Regions from separate parts of the Homo sapiens genome. Here region 2 is linked to region 1. Evidence: promoter capture Hi-C in 16 types of primary human blood cells and fetal thymus (Javierre and others, 2016). All regions are on one chromosome and are shown on one strand. Each heading gives the region's core, a stretch centred on a gene start or on the middle of the fragment in contact. The rest is flanking DNA. Distances are from core to core; before and after follow the strand shown.

Region 1 (7,244 bases), core at 2,214-4,713:
TAACAGGCAGGCTAATGGAAGAGATGGGATTCTGGAGGTCCTGGGGTCCACACTTTGAAAACAGCTACCTTTGAGTGACTATTAAAGAGTAAGAAGGAGAAAGGGAGAGAAAGAGAGAACTACTAAGTCAAAAGAGAACATGGTATTTTCTAAATAATTCAAAAGAAAAGGAAAAAACAAGACAAATGGAACATATATAGCAACACAGTAGACTTAACCCCAACAATACTGATAATTATATTTATTCTAATTAAAAAGCACAGAAAGGCCGGGCACAGTGGCTCACATCTGGAATCCCAGAACTTTGGGAGGCTGAGGCCAGAAGTCTGAGACTAGCCTGGGCAACAAAGCAAGACTCAGCCTCTACAAAAAATAAAAAACAGCCAGGCATGGTGGTGCACACCTATAGTCTAGCTACTAGGGAGGCTGAGGAGGGAGGATGAGCTATGATCACAGACTGCACTCAAACCTGGGCAACAGAGTGAGACTCTCTCCTCCCTGCAAAAATCAATTTAAAAAATACATTTTTAATTAAAAAAATTAAAATGTTTACTTTCCTGTCCTCTGTAAAAAAAAAAAAAAAAAAATTCAAAAATAAAGGCTGGGTGCAGTGGTTCACGCCTGTAATCCCAGCACTTTGGGTGGTCAAGATGGGCAGGTCGCTTGAGGCCAGGAGTTCAGGACCAGCCTGGGCAACATGGTGAAACCCCGCCTCTACAAAAATACCTGTCTCTACAAAAATACAAAAATTAGCCAGGAAATGGTGGCACACACTTGTAGTCCCAGCTACTCAGGAGGCTGAGGCGAGAGAATCGCTTGAACCCGGGAGGCGGAGGTTGCAGTGAGTCAAGATTGTACCACTGTACTCCAGCCTGAGTGACAGAGCAAGGCTCCGTCTCAAAAAAAAAAAAAAAAGCACAGACCATTAGGCTACATACAAATGCAAGATTGCTGTTTACAAGAGACACAATTTAAAACATACAGTTGTTAAACACTAGACACAAGGAAACTGGAGTGACTACACTGTCAGAAAAAATGAGGCTTCTGGACAAGAATATTGCTAGAGATCAAGATGGACATTTCTTAATGATAAAAGGGCCAATTCATCAAGCAGAATTAACATTCCTAAATGCATACGAACTTACTAATAGCTTCAAAATTCATGAAGCAAAAAATTGAAAAGATATGGGAGGCCAAGGCAAGAGGATTGCTTGAGCCGGAGTTCAAAGACCAGCCTGGACAATAGGGAAACCACCGTCTTAATTAAAAATAAAAAATTAAAAGGATAAAAAGAAAATAATATGACTGTGTAGAAAATCTTTAAAAATTTACAAAAAAATAAAGAAAACTAAGTGACTTTGGCCAGGCTGTAGGATACAAGATCAATATACAAAAATCAATTTTATGTATTCTTATATATACACAAGGTAATATAAAGTTTTAAAAAATATTTGCTGGCCGGGCACGGTGGCTCATGCCTGTAATCCCAGCACTTTGGGAGACTCCGTCTCAAAAAAAAAAAGTATTTACAATAGTATCAAGAACAGGAACAAATTTAACAAAATGTGAAAAGACTTTTATATTAAAAACTACAAAACATTGCTAAGAGAAGATTAAAATGACATAAATGGAAATAATTGTATGTATGTTTCATAGGGAAAAAAGTATTCATGCAATATTTGTGTAATTAAAATAATTAATTAAAAATAAATAAAATCCTTAACAAAGAAAATGAGATATACCCAGAACTAGACAGAGAAAATGGGTGTGAGTACTTTTGTAAAGAAATCTTGTTTCGATTCCAAGCAGGAAAAAATGTGCTTGAGACGATGCTAGCACACACGTAAAAAATCCAAGTTTTCCATTAATTACAAATCCACAAATTATATAACTTTTCTAAATGAGTTCAAAAGATTACAGGCTAGATCACTGCAGGGCACAAAGTCTTCCAACAAGGCGTTAATATGTAAAGCACAACCTTAATCAGAACATTTCCTTCTCTCCATAAATTTTGGGTCGAGCCTTCACCACTCAATCCCTCGAGTTCCCCAAGGGTGGCCCTTGGCGGGTTTTTTCCAAAGTGGGGCCAGAGGTCTGAACACCTGAGGTGAAATTCAAGTTCACGAGCAAGTCAACTAAATTTCAGAGCTCCCAACTTCCCTACATCGGTAAAATGGAGCCTAGCAAAGCCTACAAAAGACTAGGGGTTACCAGACTGCTTTAGAAAGGCGACACTTGGCCGGGCACGGTGGCTGACGCCTGTAATCCCAGCACTCTGGGAGGCCGAGGCGGGTAGATCACGAGGTCTGGAGTTCGAAACCATCCTGGCCAACATGGTGAAACCCCGTCTCTACTAAAAATACAAAAAATGAGTCGGGCATGGTGGCACGCGCCTGTAGTCCCACCTACTCGGGAGGCTGAGGCAGAAGAATCGCTTGAACCCCGGAGGCGGAGGTTGCAGTGGGCCCAGATCGCGCCACTGCACTCCAGCCTGGTGACAGAGCGAGACTCCGTCTCAAAAAAAAAAAAAAAAAGAAAGAAAGAAAAGAAAGGCGACACTTAACACACAGCAGGCGCTAAACACACATTCTTTGGGTTTGCATTTTGTCCAGAGCTAAGAGTAACAGGCATTCGGCAAAGGCTGGGGACGGGACGGGGACGGGGGCGGACGCGCGGAACTGAAAGAATCTCAGACTTCGGGTTCCAGTTCCCCCAGCCGGACTAAGCTACTCGCCCGGCCCCGGGCCCAAAGGCCTCAGGTGGTAACGGCCAAAGGGTCACCGCCTCCGCGGGGCGCTGCGTCCACAACACGGGTGGGGAAACGGTCAAGGTTTGCGGCGTTTGGGTTCATGACTGCAAAAACACCGTCCACTACGGGCCAAGCCGAGTGCCATGCCCTGCACCTACGTCTAAGCTCACAGCAGCCCGCACTGGGGCGAGGAATCCTGAGGAGGCTCGCCCCGGTCTCTGGGACTGGGCTCTCGCCGCGCTGCCTCAGGGCGCAAGTTCCACGCGCTTCGCCGGGCGCAGAAAAGCACCCCCCGCTCCGCGGCGCCCAGGCCGCCTCCCCCGACAACGCACCTCCGCAGCGACGCCTGCGCCTGGAAGGGGCTCGGCATCTAGACCGCAGCCCCGCGCGGGCCACACTCCCCAGCAAGTGCCTCGGCAGCGTCCCAGGAGACTCGCCGCGCTCGCCGGAGCTGGACGTGGCGCCGAGGTCCGCGTCGCCGCCCGCACCCCGGTGCTCACCTGTACCACGCAGCAGCCCAGGGCATCCTTCTGAGCGTCAGGAGGGACGATGTTCCGGGGCGTGTGGCCCGGGTGCAAGAAATGAACCATGGCAACCCCGGCGGCGGGGCGTCAAAAAGAGAGCCGGCGTCGAGCCGGAGCCCGGATCCCGCGAGAACCAAGCGGGCGGCTGCCAGGACGCGCCCACCACGCCTGCGAGGCACACGGAGCTAGCGCCGCGCCCTGCCGGCGAGCTTTTGAAATGCCCGGCGAGGCGACGCGCACGCGGGGGCCGGCCCGCCGCAGACCCCACCCCCCGGGCGGCCTCCTAGCCCCATCCGCCCTCCGACACGCCGCTGCCGGGGCCAACCGTTCTCCTCCCGCCTCCCCAGCCTCCCCAGCCTCCCCAGACCAACCTGCCACGACCCAGCCGCTCACCCACTCCTTCCCAGCCCTGCACCTCAGGGCTTGAGAGGATATTCCCCGAGGACCGGCTGTGTAGGTTTGGGGAATACTGTATATATATATACATGTACACACACACACACACACACACACACACACACACACACACATATTCATTATTTCTATATATGTATATATTTTTTAAAGCTTTCATACATTAAAATATATATTTCAAAGACTTTGCCCCTGAAAATCTGGCAACAGCACCTCTCTAACGGTCCTCTCTGTTTCAACTCCTTAGAGTATCTGGATAAATCAAATATAAAACGAATACAAAATATTGGCAAGTATCTACCAAAAAATCTATTTAGCTTTCTTGTTACTTAAAAAGTACTCGAGAAGACCCTTATAACCTGCTCCAAGAAAGAAACCCCGAGAGACCCTTCTAACTTTCTCCAGGAAAGAAACTCCACAAGTTAGTACACATTAGCTAATTTAAGAGAAAGCAATACCTTGGAAAAGGAAAGTTCTCAAGAGCATGAGCCTTGGAGTTTGAATCCTGAATTAGAATGCCCGCTCAGCCATCTAGTGTTTGAGAACCTGGAGCAAGATTCTTGATGTCTCTGAAGCTCAACTTCCTCATCAGTAAAATAGAATGAGAATGCTTTATCTCACAGACTTAATGTAAGGATTAAATAATGTATGTAAAACACATCACAATGCTTTTTACATAGTAAGTCCTTGATAAGTGGATTGGATTCAGATGTTAAAATTATTTTTAAGTACTTTGCCTAATGCTTTTCTTTCATTTATTTATTCTTTTATTTAATCCACTTACTACAAGAAGAAAAAAAATCCTGTGCTGTAGGTATCATCCCCATTTTTCTCACAGGGAAACTGAAGAACTGACAGGTTGAATAGACAACACGTTTTTTGGCCAGCTGATGAGTGGCCAACCTGGGAGTCAAAATTGAGTTTTCTTACTGCAAGTCCAATCAATATGCTTTTTTTTTTTTTTTTTTTTTAGACGGAGTCTCGCTCTGTTGCCCAGGCTGGAGTGCAGTGACGCGATCTCAGCTCACAGCAACCTCCGCCTCCTGGGTTCAAGTGATTCTCCTGCCTCAGCCTCCCAAGCAGCTGGGACTCCAGGCGCGCGCCACCACACCCGGCTAATTTTTGTATTTTTAGTAGAGACAGCGTTTCACCATGTTGGCCAGGATGGTCTAGATCTCCTGACCTGGTGATCCGCACGCCTCGGCGTCTCAAAATGTTGGGATTACAGGCGTGAGCCACCGTGCCCCCGCCAATATGCTTTTGTTAACGGTGGAGGGTGTTCATGTTCTTGGTGTCTTGAACAAAGAATTGGACAAAACGCACAAACAAGGAAGGAATGAAGGGATTTATTGAAAATGAAAGTACACTCCACAATGCCACAATGTGGGAGTGGGCCCGAGCACTGGGGCTCAAAGACCCCGTTACAGAATTTTTGGGAGTTTAAATACCCTCTACTTGGGGTATGCCCTATGTAAATGACGAGGATGAAGGAAAGTTACAGTCATTTCCTCGGCTTTTGCCCAATGGAGAGGATATTTCCTATTACAGCTGAAGTGTGAATTTCAGCAATTTTAACTTTAATATAGAACCTGGTAAGTTATGTTCTCATAAGGTTTGACTATTTCCAGCATATCTAGAGGTGTGGCCAACTGCATATGTCCCAGGCCTTACCGAGCTAGAAAACAGGCAAGTTAAACAATTTTCAAAAGCCAAGGAAGCAGTTTATGACCTTAAAGCATTTAGCAAACCTAATATTTGAACATAATTTTGACCACATGTTTACATTTTGAAGACATTTGTATTTTATCAATAATCTTTAAACCCATCTTTATTTCCCAAAGATTACCCAAGTCACATGAACTAAATAAAAGGCATTATGTTTTTCACTTTTCTGACAAAATATTTTATTTAAGCTCTTATTATTAAACCAATTAATTTAAAACGTAACACATGAGGCCAGGCACGGTGGCTCATGCCTGTAATCCCAGCACTATGGGAGGCCGAGATGGGTGGATCGCCTGAAGTCAGGAGTTCAAGACCAGCCTGGCCAACATAGTGAAACCCAATCTCTACTAAAAATACACAAAAAAATTACCTGGGCATGGTGGCGCATCCCTGTAATCCCAGCTACTTGGGAGGCTGAGCCAGATTTGCTTGAACCCAGGAGGCAGAGGTTGCAGTAAATTTAGATTGCGCCATTGCACTCCAGCCCCGGTGACAAAGCGAGACTTTGTTGCAAAAAGTAAAAATAAGTAAATAAAAGTGGCTGGGTGCAGTGGCTCACACCGTAATCCCAACATTTTGGGAGGCCAAGGCAAGTGAATCACCTGAAGTCGGGGTTTGAGACCAGCCTGACCAACATGGAGAAACCCCGTTTCTACTAAAAACACAAAAATTAGCTGGGCATGGTGGTGTGCGCCTGTAGTCCCAGCTGCTCGGGAGGCTGAGGCAGGAGAATTCCTTGAACGCAGGAGGCGGAAGTTGCAGTGAGCCGAGATGACGCCACTGCACTCCAGCCTGGCGACAGAGTGAGACTCTCTTTCTTAAAAAATAAATAAAAATAAAAAAATAGGGCCGGGCGCGGTGGCTCACGCCTGTAATCCCAGCACTTTGGGAGGCCGAGGCGGGCGGATCACGAGGTCAGGAGATCGAGACCATCCCGGCTAAAACGGTGAAACCCCGTCTCTACTAAAAATACAAAAAATTAGCCGGGCGTAGTGGCGGGCGCCTGTAGTCCCAGCTACTTGGGAGGCTGAGGCAGGAGAATGGCGTGAACCCGGGAGGCGGAGCTTGCAGTGAGCCGAGATCCCGCCACTGCACTCCAGCCTGGGCGACAGAGTGAGACTCCGTCTCAAAAAAAAAAAAAAAAAAAAAAATAGGCTTTGCCGTTTCTGTCATGGGCACAAAGCGGTGGCCTGATTGTCAGTCTTCTCCTGGCATTTTTAAGGCCAGGAGCCAAGTGCTGCTTGTGGGCAAATAACCTACAGAGCGGTTTTGCTTTTAAAATTATTGTTATTGGCCAGGCGTGGTGGCTCACTCCTGTAATCCCGGCACTGTGGGAGGCCGAGGTGGATGGATCACTTGAGGTCAGGAGTTCGAGACCAGCCTGACCAACATGATGAAACTCTCTCTCTACTAAAAATACAAAAATTAGCCAAGCGGGGTGGCAGGCGCCTGTAATCCCAGCTACTTGGGAGGCTAAAGCAAGAGAATAACTTGAACCTGGGAGGTGGAGATTGCAGTGAGCCGAGATTGTGCCATTGCACTCCAGCTTGGGTGACAAAAAGGAAACTGTGTCTCAAAAAAAATAAATAAATAAAATCGGCTGGGCGCAGTGGCTCATGCCTGTAATCCCTGCACTTCGGGAGGCTGAGGTGGGTGGATCACCTGAGGTCAGGAGTTCAAAACCAGCCTGGCCAACATGATGAAACTCCATCTCTAGTAAAAATACAAAATTAGCCGGGCTTGGTGGCAGATGCCCGTAATCCCAGCTACTCGGGAGGCTGAGGCGGGAGAATCGTTTAAACATGGGAGGCAGAGGTTGCAGTGAGCCCAGA
Region 2 (7,244 bases), core at 2,404-4,903, 410 kb after region 1:
ACGAAGTCATTTATGTTGCTTGCATGCTAAATGACCCTAATTCCTCTCTGTTGCAAACCTAATTGTATGATTTTGGACCTTACAATTTCTTAAAGAGATAAAATTTAGACAATGAGGCTTTTACTTTTAATAGTACTTGGATAAGTTTATTATCAAGGTTTCCACAGTCTGTTGTATTCAATTATCTCCCTGTAAGTATTCTTTAGATTTTTATTTTTATTTTTATTTTTTTGAGATGGAGTCTCGCTCTTGTTACCCAGGCTGGAGTACAGTGGCGCGATCTCGGCTCACTGCAACCTCTGCCTCCCGGGTTCAAGCGATTCTCCTGCCTCAGCCTCCTGAGTAGCTGGGATTACAGGCGCATGCCACCACGCCCAGCTAATTTTTAGACTTTTAGTAGAGACATGGTTTCACTGTGTTGGCCAGGCTGGTCTCAAATTCCTGACCTCAGGTGATCCACCCACCTTGGCCTCCCAAAGTGCTGGGATTACAGGCGTGAGCCACCGTGCCCAGCCTATTCTTTGGATTTGAGTCAGATTCTTCATCTGTTTCTCTCACTAACATTCTTTACAAGAGACTTTTTTCCTAGAAACATATTGGAGAATTATATTTCTTCCCACTGCTGTTATGAGAGAAGGATACCTGTTCATGTTATATTTCACAAGGAATTTGAGAGTTAAATAGTAACCCAAGTAAGAGTTTATTAAAAAAAAATAAGAGAACATTTTAGAAGTAGTGATTTCCAGTTACTCAGATTCTTACTGCAGAAAGGTTTGTGTGTGTGTGAGAGAGAGAGAGAGAGAGAGACATAGAGAGAGACAGACTCTTGTTGCCCAGGCTGCAGTGCGTGGTATGATCACAGCTCAGTGCAGCTTTGACCTTCTGGACTCAAGTGATCCTCCCACCTCAGCCTCCCAGAATACTAGGATTACAGATATGAGCCACTGCACCCAACCAGAAAGTATTTCTCAAATAAATATGTTGTCTCCTTTAGAAAAGCAGAATAACATTTGTTCTTGCTTCTAGGATCAGTGTTATTTTTTTTCTTGATCTGCTAGTTTGACAAATAGCTTTTAAAATTAAGTAGCTCAGTTGCTGCAAGTCCTTCGTTAATATACTTAAGGTTTAAAAGTCCAAGTTTATAAAATTGCAGAGATATTTGAGATTCTTTTACATAAGAAGGGAGTTTATTTATTGTCATTTCTCTGCTACTTTCCTTATCTGTTGATTTTCTTTGTGATGCCTTCTCTTAGCAGCCCAGCTGGTCCGCAACCTTGTAAATGCTCAACAGGTGGCTGGTTCAGCTCAGCAACAGGGTGATCAGTCCATAAGGACTAGACAGTCATCAGAATGTGTAAGTACTCTGCCTGTGAATGTGTTAGTCTTGACTGATGATAGCAGTATCTTTAATGGGTGATAGTGTTTTCTCTCAGACTGGCTAATACAATCTTCCAGATTACACAGTGCTTTGTATATATGTCCTTGCTAGGCACATAAGGTGGAATGAGCATTCCTTTTGGAATAATGTAGATCTGGGTTTCTGTCTACAGAGAAGCTACTTAATTTATATGAGCCTACTCTTCAATTGTACAATAACTACCTAATAAGATGGATTAAAAATAAGGTAATGACTTTGAGGTTTCAGACTTTGCTTAGTGGAAAAATATCAGTACCATTAATAAAAATAGACCAAAAAATTGAGATGTTTTAGGCATTTAGTGTTGTTAGGGCAATATATACATGGCATTTTGCTTGCATGAAACTTCTGTCTTCTCATAGCTTGACCTGTGGATACCTAGTGAAATACACCCTGTAAAAAAACAGTATTGAATGAGAATTCAGACTCATAAGTTTATTTTACTATCTTTTCTTTTTTTTTAAGATGGAGTCTCACTCCATTGCCTAGGCTGGAGTGCAGTGGCGTGTTCTCGGCTCACTGCAACCCTACAATCCACACCCCTGGGATCATGCAATTCTGTCTCCATCTCCTGAGTAGCTGAACTGCAGGCAATACTATCACGCCCAGCTAATTTTTGTATTTTTAGTATAGACTGGGTTTCACCATATTGGTCGGGCTAGTCTTGAACTCCTGACCTCAGGTGATCCACCTGCCTTGGCTCCCCACAGTGCTGGGATTACAGGTGTGAGCCATTGCGCCCAGCCCAGACTCATAAGTTTAATATTGTTTGTTGAGTTGCTCTTAACCTTTGTGTAAATCTATATTCACCTTGTACTTCTTAATTAATAATGACTCTAAATAACACTCTAAATCTGACATAATATTCAGTGCTTTACACTTAGCAAATTTAATCCTTGGAGTGGCCATGTGAAGTGGTAGGTATTAGTATCATCAAATTTTACAAATTGGGAAACTGAGAATAAGAGAGTATAAAAATCAAACCGAAGTCTTTCTAGCATCAAATCCATTAACCGTTTAACATGCTAAATCTAATGTGATTTGTGTTTTAGAAAAAACATTCAAGTATTTGAAGAGTATTAGGGAGAATCTTTGGAAAACATTTAGGAAATTTTCCACCCTCACCTCAAACACTTGAATACCTATTATGTGCTTGATACTTTCATAAACAACAATAATCACATTTAATGTAGTTAACATTTGTTGAGTGTAAACTATGTGCTGTACATGCATTCATTCTTTGTGATTATAAAATATTTCAAAAGTACAGAAAAGTATAGAAAATAAATCTCTATGTATCATTACCAGGCTTTAACAGTTTTTAACATTGTTATTTTAGCTTTATTAAAAAATCACCCTCAGTTGAACACCCTGTACATTCTTCTTTGATCCCATTCCTATCTTAAAAGCTTCCTACCATCCTTCCCTTGCTACAGAAATGTATCTGCTATCTTGAACTTGGTGGTTATATGTTCCACATGCATTGTTCAGTTAATCTTCTCAAAAACCTGAGGCAAATTCTGATTATATTTTATAGGTAAAGAAACCGAGGTTTCAGTTTCTTGCCTGAGGTCAATAGACACTTGGAATCAGAACGCGAACCCTCAGGCTCTCTGTCAGCAAAACTTATGCTCTAACCACTTTTCTATGCTGCCCTAATTTTCATTTTATGCTACTAGTCCTCACTTTTCTCTCACCCGTGCTTTCGGAAAGAGTCTGTCTAATGGACATTGCTATTCTGATGTCTAACAAAGCACGTCAACATGCCTAAAATATAGTTAATCTTTCCTTTCAACCCCCAGGACTTGCCTCTTCCTCCTGTGTTTTATATCTCGTTGAATGATCCCATTTTCTATCTAGTTTCCAAAACTTTTCCCTCTCCTTCAACCTCTATGTTCAGTCACTAAGTCCTGTTGTTTCTGCCTTAAAAAAAGCTAGGTGTTTGCCTCACTCCTGTAATCCCAGCACTTTAGGAGGCTGAGGTGGGTGGATCACCTGAGGTCGGGAGTTTGAGACCAGCCTGACCAACATGGTAAAACCCCATCTCTGCTAAAACTACAAAAAATTAGCTGGATGTGGTGGCAGGGAACCTGTCATCCCAGCTAGTTGGGAGACTGAGGCAGGAGAATCACTCGAACCCAGGAGGCGGAGATTGCAATGTGCCGAGATTGCACCACCGCACTCCAGCGTGGGCAACACAGCGAGACTGTCTCAAAAAAAAAAAAGTATCTCACAGCCATTTGCTTCCCTCTATCCCTGTTTGTGTTTCCTTAGCCTAGGCTACTATCATCTCCTAATCAGTCTCAACAGCCTTTTAGCAGTCTCCTAATCAGTCTCAACAGCCTTTTAATTTTTACTTATCTATTTATTCATTCATTTTTGAGACAGCGTCTTGCTCTGTTGCCCAGGCTGGAGTGCAGTGGCACAATCATGGCTCACTGCAGTCTTGACCTCCCAGGCTCGGGTGATTCTCCCATGTCAGCCTCCAGAGTAGCTGGGACTCCAGGCATGCACCACCACACTTGGCTAATTTTTGTATTTCTTGTAAAGATGGGATTTCGACATGTTGCCCAGGCAGGTCTCAAACTCCTGAGCTCAAGTGATCTGCCTGCCTCAGCCTTTGAAAGTGCTAGGATTACAGTCTTGAGCCACTGTTCCTGTCTCTCATCAGCCTTTAAAAAAATTCTCTATTTTATTCTTATTAAACCAGGATAATCTTTCTAAAGTTCAGATTGATCATGTTCCATACCTGTTTAAAACCCTTCAGTGGTTTACCACTGCATTTAGGATATAGTCTAAATTACAAGGCTTATAAGACACTTCATTGTCTTGCCCCTATTTAGCTCTTCAGCCTCGGCCATTCCCCTGCCATTATATATACTCCAGTAATATTAAACTTCTTTCAGATTCCAATTACTTTAAAAAGCCATGTGTTTTCATACCTCTAGACCTTCAATCATATTGAACACTCTTCCTCTCCCCTTATCTCTCCCTTCTTGTATCAGACTGATTTCTGTTTACCCTGAGTCTCAGCTAAAAGATCACTTTTTCTAGGAAGCTTTCCCTGATTTCTCTTCTCTCCTTCTCCCAAAGTGACTTTAGGTGTTCCTGCTCTGGGATTTCATTATGTAGTTGACCCTTGAACAAAACAGGTTTGAACTGCGTGAGTCTACTTATACATGAATTTTTTCCAACAGATTGTGGTTGGAAAGTACAGTATTCCCAGGATGCAAAACCCAAGTATTCAGAGATCCAACTTTTTGTATATATGGGTTCTGTAGAGCTGACTGTGGGACTTGAGTACAGGATTGTGGGGGTCCTGGAACCAATCCCCTGCATATCCTGAGGGACAGCTGTACACTGTACATTCTTTATCATAGTACTCATTATACTTATTATGATTGCTTATGTAATCTTTGTCTGCTCCCTTCCTTATCCCCCTTAAACGTTGAGCTCCATGAGGGCATACATGTTGGTATTACATTTTTATTACCTAGAACAATACTTAGTACATAATTGACACAATAAATACTTGTTGAGGGACTGAATGAAAGTGACTATGAGATATTTAGATGGAAGTTTTGAGTTTGCAATAGGAAGTATGTGTTCTGCACGATGGGAACCATGTCTGGGCTCTCGTTTCTTTGGACAATAAAACGATTTGTGAGGCAATACCTACTTGAAAAGGGGGTTTGAGTACCTTGGGAAAAACTAATTATTTGTTATGATATACATCATAGAGTTCTGTTTTATAAAGTTTTTAATTTTGTATTTTATCTCTACTTTTATAAAATTAAGATGTTTATAAATTAATTAAAAAAAATTTTTTTTTTGTCTGCAGTCTGAATCACCATCTTATTCTCCTCAGCCTCAGCCATTTCCACAGAACTCTTCCCAGTCAGCTGCTATTACTCAGCCTTCATCTCAGCCAGGATCCCAACCTAAGCTTGGCCCACCTCAGCAGGGAGCCCAACCTCCCCATCAGGTCCAGATGCCACTGTATAACTTTCCCCAGTCACCACCAGCTCAGTATTCTCCCATGCACAATATGGGATTGTTGCCAATGCACCCTCTCCAGATCCCTGCCCCGTCCTGGCCCATCCATGGCCCAGTGATCCACTCTGCACCAGGCAGTGCCCCCAGCAATATTGGCCTAAATGATCCCAGCATCATCTTTGCACAGCCTGCTGCCAGACCTGTGGCAATCCCTAACACGTCTCACGATGGACACTGGCCCCGTACTGTGGCTCCAAATTCCCTGGTAAACAGTGGTGCAGTGGGGAATTCAGGTAACCTTTCCTTTTCTTCTTTTTTATCTGCATGTCTTTTCTTCTTTTGTATCTGTCTGTAGAAACAATGTGAGGAAAAAGAAGGAAAGCAGTATTTGTGGAGGGGACAGTACAGGATTAGATAAAGATTAAGAATATGGGCTCTGGACTCAGACTGCCTGGATTTGAATCCTGGCCCTGCCATTTATTATGTAGCTTGGGCAGTTAATCTCTTTGTGCATTGGTTTCATCTGTAAAATAGGCCATCTAACTCACAGGGATGTTGTAAATGTTAAATGAGGTGTAACACACATAAATGTTAGCTATTATTTTAGTATTTTAAAAAATTTTCACTGCCACTCAGTTTGGTGTATTATTTATTACACAGTTGATGAAATTGAAGAGTTAAGTAACTTCACTGTCTTACTGTCATGGTTAATAATGGTAGGTTGGCCGGGCATGGTGGCTCATGCCTGTAATCCCAGCACTTTGGGAGGCGGAGGCAGGTGGATCACCTGAAGTCAGGAGTTCGAGACCAGCCTGGCCAACATGGTGAAACCCCATCTCTACTAAAAATACAAAAATTAGCTGGGTGTGGTGGTGCACGCCTGTAATCCCAACTATGTGGGAGGCTGAGGCAGGAGGCTCGCTTGAACCCAGGAGGTGGAGGTTGCAGTGAGCCGAGATTGCGCCATTGCACTCCAGCCAGGGCGACAGAGCAGAACTGTCTCAAACAAAAAAAAGATCAAGGAAACCAAAAAAATTAATGATGGTAGGTCCAAGAGTTAAACGAATTTCTTTGTTCAAAACCGTGCTGCTGCATGCCCTAGACACTATTTTTTCTCAGGAACAATTCTTTAAAAAAGAAAAATAGTTTTTTTTCTGATATCTAAGTAATAAATGTTCATTATAGAGTATTTGAGAAATAAATCATCTATCATCTCAATTCCTAGACATAAATACTAAGGAATATTTTGGTGTATTACTATTCAGTCATTAAAAAAAAACTGCATATTTAAGAAAATAGTTGATACATGCTATAAATCTAGTTTTACATCCAGCTTTAAAATACATAGACACACACACACACACATATATACACACATACATATAAATATTTATACACACTTAAACATACACAGGCCGGCACTGTGGCTTACACCTGTAATCCCAGAACTTTGGAAGGCTGAGGTGGGCAGATCAGTTGAGGCCAGGAGTTTAAGACCAGGCTGGCCAGCATGGCAAAACTCTTGTCTCTATTAAAAATACAAAAATTAGCCGGGTGTGGTGATGCATGCCTGTAATCCCAGCTACTCAGGAGGCTGAGGCAGGAGAATCGCTTGAACCCAGGGAAAGAGAGGTTGCAGTGAGTTGAGATCATGCCATTGCATTCCAGCCTGGGCAACAGAGTGAGACTCTCTCAAAAAAAAATAAATAAATAAATAAAATTAAAAAAAAGTATATATATATATATATTTAGACAAAGTCTCAAAGTGTTGTCCAGGTTGGAGTGCAGTGGCTATTCACAGGCCAATCTAGCATACTACAACCTTGAACTC

Evidence for each region. The method cuts DNA at HindIII sites, captures the fragments that hold promoters and counts their contacts. A CHiCAGO score of 5 or more calls a contact.
Region 2: a fragment that was not itself captured here is called in contact with the fragment with the promoter of ZYG11A in region 1 in 1 of 17 cell types (naive B cells); the score reaches 5.0 in naive B cells.

Annotation. Positions count from the first base shown.
Region 1 is chr1:52,838,979-52,846,222 of GRCh38, reverse strand. It overlaps ZYG11A (zyg-11 family member A, cell cycle regulator), which reads right to left and starts at 3,463. Exons shown (of 14, transcript NM_001004339.3): 1 at 3,250-3,463. The coding sequence starts at 3,339. RefSeq lists an enhancer at 2,289-2,882 and a silencer at 3,384-3,713. The HindIII fragment of the contact is 4,430 bases long and covers 1-3,842 here.
Region 2 is chr1:52,429,475-52,436,718 of GRCh38, reverse strand. It overlaps TUT4 (terminal uridylyl transferase 4), which reads left to right. Exons shown (of 30, transcript NM_001009881.3): 27 at 1,254-1,354; 28 at 5,259-5,706. Among named protein-coding and RNA genes, the nearest start is that of PRPF38A, 28 kb to the right of the region's middle. The HindIII fragment of the contact is 1,649 bases long and covers 2,829-4,477 here.